Linked DNA regions of Homo sapiens: regions 1 and 3 are each linked to region 2. The links are contacts of gene promoters, found by promoter capture Hi-C in blood cells and fetal thymus (Javierre and others, 2016). All regions are on one chromosome and are shown on one strand. The core of a region is centred on a gene start or on the middle of the fragment in contact, and the rest is flanking DNA. Distances in the headings are between cores, read along the strand shown.

Region 1 (3,305 bases), core at 235-2,734, 600 kb before region 2:
GTTACAAAAGTGAAAGGGAAAAGTCAGTCTCCTCATTTTATGCCTGAGAAAACTGAAATCCAGACAGTGTTGCACAATTTCTACATGCCAATATAATGTATTTTTTTGTCATTATGAGCTGTACACCAAGATATCATTAGTATACAGAAAGCTTTGTAAGCCATATACACTTTTATATTCAGTGTAAATTGTGCAGCTCTGTCTTACTGCTTTCCTTTTCCTCTGAAAAATGTCCCTTTTTTCCTGAAAGGTCCAGTTGAACTTGAGAAATTAAGAGTATAGGGAAAATATTTGTCTAGACTACATAGTTTTATAGTTGGTTTAATTATCATACCAAGTTAAAATATTTTTTGATTAGAGCATCTGCTGATGTAACTCTTAAGTCCAATAATAAGACTGTAATTTTTCTCTGCAGGTGGTGACAAAGTGATAGATGTCATTGATGTGGCGAGGCAGGCAGACAGCAAAATGACACTTCACAATTATGTTAAATACTTCATGAATCCTAACAGACCAAAAGTGTTAAATGTGATCAGCCTTGAATTTTCAGATACAAAGTGAGTAGTTCTGGGTATTTTGGTTTAGCATTCTGAGTGTTAGCTAAATGTAGTGTAATGATGTATTTATTTTAGGAAGAAACATAGTTGTGACTTCTAAAGTTGTCCAGTGGTAGCAATGTTATAAATTTTGCATTGGGACACTCAGAGATACTTAGAAATAAGATGTATTTTAAACTTTTGGCTGGGCACAGTGGCTTATGCCTTAATCCCAGCATTTTGGGAGGCCAAGGCGAGTGGATCGCTTGAGGCCAGGAGTTCAAAACCAGCCTGGCCAACATGGCGTAACCCCCTCTCTACTAAAAATACAAAAATCAGCTGGGCATGGTGGCACATGCCTGTAATCCCAGCTACTCAGAGAGGCTGAGGCACGAGATCTCTCGAACCCGGCAGGATGGAGTTTGCAGTGAGCCAGGATCGCGCCACTGCACTCTAGCCTAGGCGACAGAGCAAGACTCTGTCTCAAAAACAAACAAACATGTGTTTTAAACTTTTAAGTGTTGTTGTTAACCTTAAGTTCCATTTAATTATTTGGTTTGGGAATAGATGAGAAAAACAATTCTTAAGAATTTTTAATTTGCATGATGTGGGTGTGTGTGTATGTTTGTTTTTTGAAAGGATGTCTGAATTGGTGGAGGTCCCTGATATAGCCAAAAAACTTTCCTGGGTGGAAAATTATTGGCCAGATGATTCAGTCTTTCCCAAGCCATTTGTTCAGAAATATTGCTTAATGGGAGTTCAAGACAGCTATACAGATTTCCACATTGACTTCGGTGGAACTTCAGTCTGGTACCATGTCCTCTGGGTAAGATTGGGGTATTTTTTGTTCTCTCACTGACAAAAACATATAGCCCTAGTTTTTCAGTGGTATATTCATTTCTTGTAAATGTTACTTGTAAAGGGGGAAGTTTTTTTTTTTTTTTTTACTTTTTAACCAGGAACTGTCACTTTGCCTTTAAACGTTACGATTTTTTTTTTTAATCTCAAATAATGGAAGAGCCATGACTTTTAAATTTATATTAGATTTACTTTCTGCCCTCATCTTTTAAGTTGGTTTCTTTTAGGCTTTTGTCTCTTCTTGATTTTTTTTCCCCTAGTTAATTATCCTTTAATCCCTGAATTAAATATCTGTGAAGGAGCAAAATTACAGTAATAATTGCTTCTGGCCTTAATGTTGGGCTAGGATAGCTTGTTGGATAAGTCAGGAATGCCTATAAAAATACCAGTTCTTGGCTGGGTGTAGTGGCTTACACCTATAATCCCAGCGCTTTGAGAGGAGGCCAAGCTGGGAAAATTATTTGAGCCCAGGAGTTCAAGACCAGCCTGAGCAACATAGTGAGACCCTGTCTCTAAAAATAAAAATAAAAACATTAGCCAGGCATGGTGGCTCATTCCTGTAGTCACAGCTACTCAAGAGGCTCAGGCAGGAGGATCACTTGAGCCCAGGAAGTTGAGGCTACAGTGTGCTGTGATTGCACCACTGCATTCCAGCCTGGGCAACAGAGCGAGATCCTGTCTCTAAAAATAAAAATAAAAAAAGTAGCCAGGCATGGTGGCTCATGCTTGTAGTCACAGCTACTCAAGAGGCTGAGGCAGGAAGATCACTTGAGCCCAGGAAGTTGAGGCTGCAGTGTGCCGTGATCACTCCACTGCACTCCAGCCTGGGCAACAGAGCAAGAACCTGTCTCTAAAAGTAAAAATTAAAAAATTAGCCAGGTGTGGTGGCTCATGCCTGTAGTCGCAGCTACTCAAGAGGCTGAGGCAGGAGGATCACTTGAGCCCAGGAAGTTGAGGGCGCAGTGTGCTGTGATTGCACCATTGCACTCCAGCCTGGGCAACAGAGCGAGACCCTATCTCAAAAAAACAAAACAAAAGACCAGTTATTTGCAATTTATATTCACCTTGCTTTATCTAGAGCTGCATTGTTCAAAACAGTTGCCACTAGCCATGTGTGACTAAATTTAAATAATTAAAATGGAATGTAATTAAAAATTCAGTTCCTCGTTTATACTAGGCACATTTCAAGTGCTCAGTAGCCACATGTGGCTAATGGCTACTGTGTTGGTTAGCACAGATACAAAAAATTTCCATCAGCACAGAAAGTTGTATTGGAGAGTACTGATGTAGAAAGTCAGTCTTCATCTATATCAAATGCTTGTGCCTCAGCAATGTTCTGGGCTATATTTGTTGCTGGGTCCTTGGGTTCCTGTTTTTTTCCTTCATGAAGTAGCAAAGAATTAGTTTATTAAAGGAAGCTTATTTATAGGTTTTTAAAAATAATTATGCTGTGGATCTTAGTAGAAAGGGCAAAGCTTGCAGAGATGACTGTGGGCCTGTCAACACATATTTACTTCTCTATTTGACAATGAGAGGAGGTCAGTGGGATGTTTGTGCTTCTCTGCCCTCCTGTCTTGCAGCTATTTCTTCAACACTACTTTATTGACTCCTTGTCAGTTGAGGAGGGGGAGCTTTAAACATGAAAATGTTTACTAAGGGCAATAGCTACTGATCAGGTGTGTGAAATATGTCTTTTGAACCTAAAAGAATCTGATAATTATCCAATTTAATTTGTATCATTGTATTGAGAAATTGCATCAATGTAGGCTATCCTAAGTATGGCTTTTGCTTTTTCAAAAATAGTATGATACTTCCTTTTAGGGTGAGAAGATTTTTTATTTAATAAAGCCAACAGATGAAAATTTGGCACGTTATGAATCTTGGAGTTCATCTGTGACCCAGAGTGAGGTG
Region 2 (3,173 bases), core at 484-2,983:
TCTGCACAGCCCTTCCTCGGACAGTGCACGTCCCCTGGCCCATAGCCTTTGTGCAGAAGGCTGGCATTACCATCCCCACCTCGCCATCCTCAGCAGCCCCATGACCTGCCTTGGCCCAGCTGCTGGTTATGTCCCTCCTGGTCCACTGCCCCACCCCCTCCCTGACCTCGAGCCTGGGTCCCACCCCTCTGGGCCACCACCAGTCTTCCAAGGGCAAGCCCACCATCTCCACCCCTCAGTAGCCCCTTCAGAACAAAGTCCAAGCTCCTGGGCAAGGCCTGGCTGGCCCTTCACCGTCTGGGTCCTTCAGGCCCGTCTCTCTCCACCCTGCCCCATCTCAGTACTCCAGGGCTCAGTTCCCACGTGGCACAGAGTAGCTCTGACCACCTGGCCTGGGATACGTCATGCTCTGGGTCTGGAACACCTTCCCCTCTGTCTCCACGCCTGCTAAGAGGTCACCTACTCCTGGGAAGCCCTCCTTTTCTGACACTGCCTCCCTAAGGATGGGTGATCCAGGCTCCAGGCTTCCCTAGTTAATGCTGCCCAGGTCCTCCTTGTCCTTGGATTCAGGGTGCCAGGAGCACCCTGAGAAGCACCCAAAGGGCCAGCCACCCTCTCACCAACTCCTGCATCTCCCACACCACACGCCGCCGGCGGTAGCTAATACAAGTTTCCTTAAAGAGCTCATGAACTTGAAATCAATTCTCTACTTGGGTTACTGCCCCGGAGGCAGGCCAGGGGTCCCTCCCTGAGGCAGTCTGATGGAGGAGTAGGTGTGACCCCTGACCTTGCAAGGAAGAGCCTCTCCTGGATTCTCCACCCCTGCCCTGCCCTGCCCTCCCCACATGCCCCACCACCACGGGGTCCCCGCGGCTCTCACAGGGGCGGGCACCACCTCTGGGGTCTCCAGCTTTCTTACTTTACTCGAAGCGTGTTCACGACCACAGATTCCGCCACCCTCTCAACACGCCTGTCTGGTGGGTGTCAGGCAGTGTTTGTCCCCTTCATGCGTGAGGAGACGAAGGCTCAGAGCGTGAAGCCCGCTCCAAGGTCAGAGAGGGAGTCGCAGCAGAGGCGGGGTCGAGGCTGTGACTCGCGGTGGCCCCCGGTTCCCTCCCACCCCACCCCACGAACCGGCGTCTGGCCGCCCTGAAATGAATGACTCCGCCGCGTCCCGGCGCCGCGCTCCCAGCGCTCCCCTCCGGGACAGCGGCCAAGGTGACTCTGACCGCCTCCGGGTCGCGGGTCGGGCCTGGGCAGGGGTCCCTGGGCCAGGAGAGGGAGGCCGCTCCGCGCTTACCCTCCAAGGCCGCCTTCCAGCTGGTGCTGCCCTCGTAGCCCGACCCGGATCGCCGCAGCAGCCCCTCGGGGCCGCGGGCCTCAGCCTCTGCGGGCGAACGCGGCCTGGGGGCGGCGGGGGCGGGCGCGGGGCGCGCGGCGAGGGGCGGCGGCGGCCGGGCCCGCGAGGGGGGCTCCCGGGCCGGCTCCATGCGGGGCGCTCCGCCGCGCCGCGCCCGCGCTCCTGCACCGGGGTGCGGGGCCCAGCCCGACGCGCACTCGGCGCTCCGCGCGCCCTGCGGGCCCCCCAGGCCGGCCTCGGGTGGGCTAGGACCGCGGCGCTGGCAGGCCGGGGCTGAGCCCGGCTCCCCGCGCTGGAGCCTCTGCGCCGGGTGCCGCCGCGGTGCGCTCAGCGCCTGCCCCGCCGAGCCGCAGCCTCCACGCACAGCCGGGCTGGGGAGGAGCGCGAGGCGGCGCGCGGGAGCCGGGAGCCGTGGACCCGGGCGGGGCGGGGCAGGGGCGGAGAGGGAGGAGGCGCGGAGGAGCGGGGACAGCCGGCTCCCCGACCCCGCCACCTGGGCTGGAGGCTGGATGCTGTCGAGCTGGGAGCGCAGTCTTGGAGCCGGGAGACCTGGTTCTAACTCAGCTCCATCTCCCCAGCCGCCTGCTCACCATCTGTGAAAATGGGAATAAAGTTCGCGGGGACAGTGCAGGGAGGCTCAGGGAAGATGAGCGCCTTTCTTCCCGGCTGCCCTGGAGCCACAGCAGAGGGTGGTAGGGGCTGTGACTTGACCCCCAAACTCTTGATAAAGGAGAGAAACGTCCGAACGATGAGCACAGAGACAGTAGAGTCTAAAGGAGCAAGCGAAGTGACGTTGCAGATTCAATTAACATTTATTGAGCACCTACTAAGCGCCAGGGACTTTCACATATTATTAGCTGACAATGCCCCCAGGTGAGGCTGAGAAGTGGAATTTTGAGGTCAAGGACATTTCCGAAGGCGGCGCCAGGCAGGTGCGTGCTTGGCGGGTGTCTGACTCCCAGGCCAGGGCTCCCTCCGGAGCCTTCACTGGCCCCTTGCCTCAGCTGACCTCGCGTCGCCTGAAGCCCCACGCCTCCAGCCCTGATCCTCTTCCCCCTCCACCATTCTCAGCCCCAACCTCTGGTTCCTGTCTCCATCTTCAGTTCCTCATCCCCAGCTCCTCCTGCTCCCTCCCCCAAATCCAATAGGCCACTGACTCTTGTGAATTCTCCCTTTTAAAATATTTTTATTTTTATTTTTTGAGACAGGGTCTCGTTCTGTAGCCCAGGCTGGAGTGCAGTGTCACTACAGCCTCGGCCTCCCAGGCTCAAGCGATCCTCCCACCTGGGTCTCCCAAAGTTCTAGGATTGCAGGCGTGAGCTGCCGTGCCCGGCCCCTTTTTTTTTTTTTTTTTTTTTTTGAGACGGAGTCTCGCTCTGTCGCCCAGGCTGGAGTGCAGTGGCGGGATCTCGGCTCACTGCAAGCTCCGCCTCCCGGGTTCACGCCATTCTCCTGCCTCAGCCTCCCAAGTAGCTGGGACTACAGGCGCCCGCCACTACGCCCGGCTAATTTTTTTGTATTTTTAGTAGAGACGGGGTTTCACCGTTTTAGCCGGGATGGTCTCGATCTCCTGACCTCGTGATCCGCCCGCCTCGGCCTCCCAAAGTGCTGGGATTACAGGCGTGAGCCACCGCGCCCGGCCGCCCGGCCCCTTTTAAACTCTTAGTCTGCGCATTGCACTCCATCCCTCTAGCCACTGGCCAAGTACAAGCCAATGCCTTCTCTTGCCCGACCACAGCAGCAGCCTTCTAAGGGGTCTCCCATCCTCCACTCTTGCTCCCTCCTATCCAGCCCCTCCCCCTCCACACCCGCA
Region 3 (3,509 bases), core at 894-3,393, 520 kb before region 2:
ATTTGTTTAAGCTTACACAATTACCATTTTGTTTCTTACTCACCATTCCTTTGCTCACACTTCTCCTTGTTTATCATTTTCTTTCTTTAAGTTCCTCTGTTGGAGGTTGCTTTAATGAGAGTCTGGAGGTAATTGTGTATTTTGTTAGTCTGAAAGGGTTTTTATTCCCTTCTCATTCTTGAAAGATAGTTTTACTGGGTATTTTCCCTCAGTTCTTCAAAGACTATTTCATTGTTGTCTGGATTCCATTGCTTCTACTTAGAAGTTAGCTATCAGCCTAAATCGAGGTGGTATTAGTTCACTTCTTAGGGCTGCTGTAACAAATTACCATGAACTTGATGGCTTCAAACAACAGAAATTTATTTTCTCGGTTCTGGAGGCTAGAAGTCCAAACTGAAGGTGTTAGCAGGGCCTTGCTCTGTCTGAAGGCTTTACAGGAGGATCCTTTCTTGCCTCCTCCAGGATTCTGATGCTTAGAAATCCTTGGCATGCCTTGGCTTGTAGACGCGTCACTCCAATCTCAGCCTCCATTGTCACAGGCATTTCCCCATGTGTCTGTGTTCAAATTTCCCTCGTCTTAAAAGGACATCAGTTTTGGATTAGGGCCCACCCGAATCCAATATGACCTCATCTTAACTTGATTATATCTGCAAAGACCCTATTTCCAAATAAGATCGCATTCATGGGTACCAGGGATTAGACCTTCAGCATATCTTCTTGGGGACACAATTCAATCCAGTATAATAGATAGTCTGTTTTTTTCTCTCTGGCTGTTTTTAATATCTTGTCATTCTTTGGTGCTGTGCAGTTTCACTAAAATCTGTGTGTGGATTTAAAAAAATTTATGCTACTCATATTTTGCTGTGCTTTCTGATTTCCTCAGCCATGATCTCCTTAAGTATTCCTTCTCTGGAATTCTCATTAGATATATGGTGAAGTCTTCTCACTTTATCTTTTATGTCTTCTAACTTCTCTTTTATTCTCTTTCTAAACTCTGCCACATTTCTTCCTCTCAGGCTCTCAGTTCATTAGTTCAGACTCTTCTGAGATGCAGTGTGTCCCATCGAAGTATGATTTTTAAATTTCAGTTAATTTAATTATGTTTAAAAGTTCTAAGGTCGGGAGCAGTGGCTCACGCGTGTAATCCCAGCACTTTGGGAGGCTGAGGAGGGCGGATGGCTTGAGGCCAGGAGTTCAAGACCAGCCTGGCCAACATGGTGAAACTCTGTCTGCACAAAAAAATACAAAAATTAGCTGGGCGTGGTGGTGCATGCCTGTAATCCCAGCTACTCCTCGGGAGGGTGAGACAGGAGAATCGCTTGAATCCGGGAGGCGGAGATCACGATGAGCTGAGATGATGCCACTGCACTCCAGCCTGGGTGACAGGGTGAGACTCTGTCTCAAAAAATAAAAAATTAAAAAAAAGTAGTAAAAAAGGAAAAGAAAAAAAGTTTTGGAGGGAGTGGAGGAGAAAGAAAAGAATAATGAATAGTAAAAGTTCTGTTTTTTTCCTTAAATTTACCCAGTCAGTTTTTATAGTCTCTTGATTCTTACTCATACTTTTGATGCTCAATTCCTTTTTAAAAAACATATCACGTATATCTGCATCTGAGAATACTAATGTTTATAGTTCAGGGTGGTCTGATTTTGTTTTTGTTAACTTTTGCTCATAGTGTCTTTGTTTCCACATTTTGTGATCGATTTTGAGCTCATGTTTGATTTGATGGAAATTTCTTTGGAAATTCTTTTTTTTTGAGATGGAGTCTCACTCTGTCGCCCAAGTTGGAGCGCAGTGGTGCGGTCTCAGCTCACTGCAAGCTCCGCCTCCTGGGTTCATGCCATTCTCCTGCCTCAGCCTCCTGAGTAGCTGGGACTACAGGTGCCCGCCACCACTCCCGGCTAGTTTTTGTATTTTTAGTAGAGACGGGGTTTCACTGTGTTAGCCAGGATGGTCTCGATCTCCTGACCTCATGATCCACCTGCCTTGGCCTCCCAAAGTGCTGGGATTACAGGCGTGAGCCACCATGCCCGGCCAAGAAATTCTTTTGAGGCCTGAGTTGAAGGTGAATTTCTCCAGAGGGGATGTGTGTTTGCTTCTCTGAGAACTGCTACCCTGGGTGGTCTTTGCAGCTAATTCTCCCAAAATGTGAATCAGTCTAAAACTTCTGTGAGGCTTGAGTGGTTTATGAGTTCTCAGAGGAATTTTTTCCTCCTTTATCCAGAACCAACATTAATACAGGCAGGTTTCCTTGCCAGATGTCTTTGCAAGGCAAGTCCCCTCTCCAGTCCCCCTTTACTAAGGTGGGTCATCTTTTAGGGTCCTGGTTTTACGCAGAGGTATCTCTTTTGAGATTCAGCCTCCTGCCGTACTCAGACCCTACATTTGTTTCCTGCTTCCCTTTTGCGGCCAAAGCCCAGGCTCTCTGTCGTTACTCATCGATACTGCCCTGGGATAGCTGCTGGCTCTCGCCCTCCTCTCCGCTCTCCAGTTTCGTACCTTCCTTTGGTCTTTAGGCAGTACTGCGTTTAGAAAGGGAGCGTGTCCTGGTGGCTCAGGTGCAGGCTGTGCAGCCCACCTGCCCACCTGAAAGCCCAGCTCGCCCGCTGACTAGCTGTTTGACCTTGAACAGGTTTCTTCACCTTCCTGAGCTTCTGTTTTCCCGTCTGTGAAGTGGAGATAATAGTCTCAACCTCATAGGGTTGTGAAAATGTCATCGCCTAATACATATAAAGTGCTTAATGCAGGGTCTGGCTCACACAGTAAACACTCAGTATATGTTAACTATTGTTATTTTTGGCTTCTGAGGACTTCCCTTTCTTGCCAGCTCAGCAGTGAATTTTAAAAAAGAATGATTTCACCAGCATCTTCGGCATTTTGTACTGAGAGGAATTTTCGTCATAACTAGTCTCCCACATTATCTTGATTTTGATATTTTTATACCTCAAAACTGATCTGAAAAAGCAGTTTCCTCTACCTCTGGGAACTTTTTCTAAAATGTGCATGCCACATTTACTATTCGCATCTCCCAGCTATATGTTCTCAAGCTGAGGGACCTGTGTCTGCTTGGCTGGTGGGATTTTCAGTCTGCTGCTGTTTTTCTTCTGTAGGATCCTGTGCTCTGAGTCAGCCAGTACCTTTCACTCTCATTGTCTGAACTTTAACGCCATGACTTACGGTGCTACCCAGGCTCGCCGCCTCTCCACGGCCTCCTCTGTCACCAAACCTCCACACTTCATCCTCACCACTGACTGGATTTGGTACTGGAGTGATGAGTTTGGTTCTTGGCAGGAATATGGAAGACAGGTAAGTGTGATGGAAAGAGGGTGAATGTTTTGTCCTGAGGATCTGTAAGAGAGGAGCCAAATAAGAGCCCCCATATTGTTGCCAGGGGCATCCTTGAGAGAGCTGAGGATCCCCAGGTGCCAGTGTGGCTCACTTGCTTTGGGAGAATTATGGCAAAACTAGATAAGTTGGAATTTATTTGTATGAGCTTTCATCTTTGAAGAGC

Evidence for each region. Contacts are between HindIII fragments. The CHiCAGO score rates a contact against its expected background, and 5 or more counts as called.
Region 1: a contact is called between a fragment that was not itself captured here and the fragment with the promoter of CLEC2L in region 2, in 1 of 17 cell types (monocytes). The highest score is 7.9, in monocytes.
Region 3: a fragment that was not itself captured here is called in contact with the fragment with the promoter of CLEC2L in region 2 in 1 of 17 cell types (monocytes); the score reaches 6.3 in monocytes.

Annotation. Positions count from the first base shown.
Region 1 is chr7:140,124,694-140,127,998 of GRCh38, reverse strand. KDM7A (lysine demethylase 7A) reads left to right here. Exons shown (of 20, transcript NM_030647.2): 5 at 416-557; 6 at 1,176-1,362; 7 at 3,216-3,305. Among named protein-coding and RNA genes, the nearest start is that of KDM7A, 51 kb to the left of the region's middle. RefSeq lists an enhancer at 2,133-2,633. The HindIII fragment of the contact is 2,661 bases long and covers 154-2,814 here.
Region 2 is chr7:139,522,245-139,525,417 of GRCh38, reverse strand. CLEC2L (C-type lectin domain family 2 member L) reads right to left here and starts at 1,733. Exons shown (of 5, transcript NM_001080511.4): 1 at 1,301-1,733. The coding sequence starts at 1,490. The HindIII fragment of the contact is 20,495 bases long and covers 1-3,173 here.
Region 3 is chr7:140,041,439-140,044,947 of GRCh38, reverse strand. PARP12 (poly(ADP-ribose) polymerase family member 12) reads left to right here. Exons shown (of 12, transcript NM_022750.4): 6 at 3,109-3,304. Among named protein-coding and RNA genes, the nearest start is that of PARP12, 20 kb to the left of the region's middle. The HindIII fragment of the contact is 4,259 bases long and covers 14-3,509 here.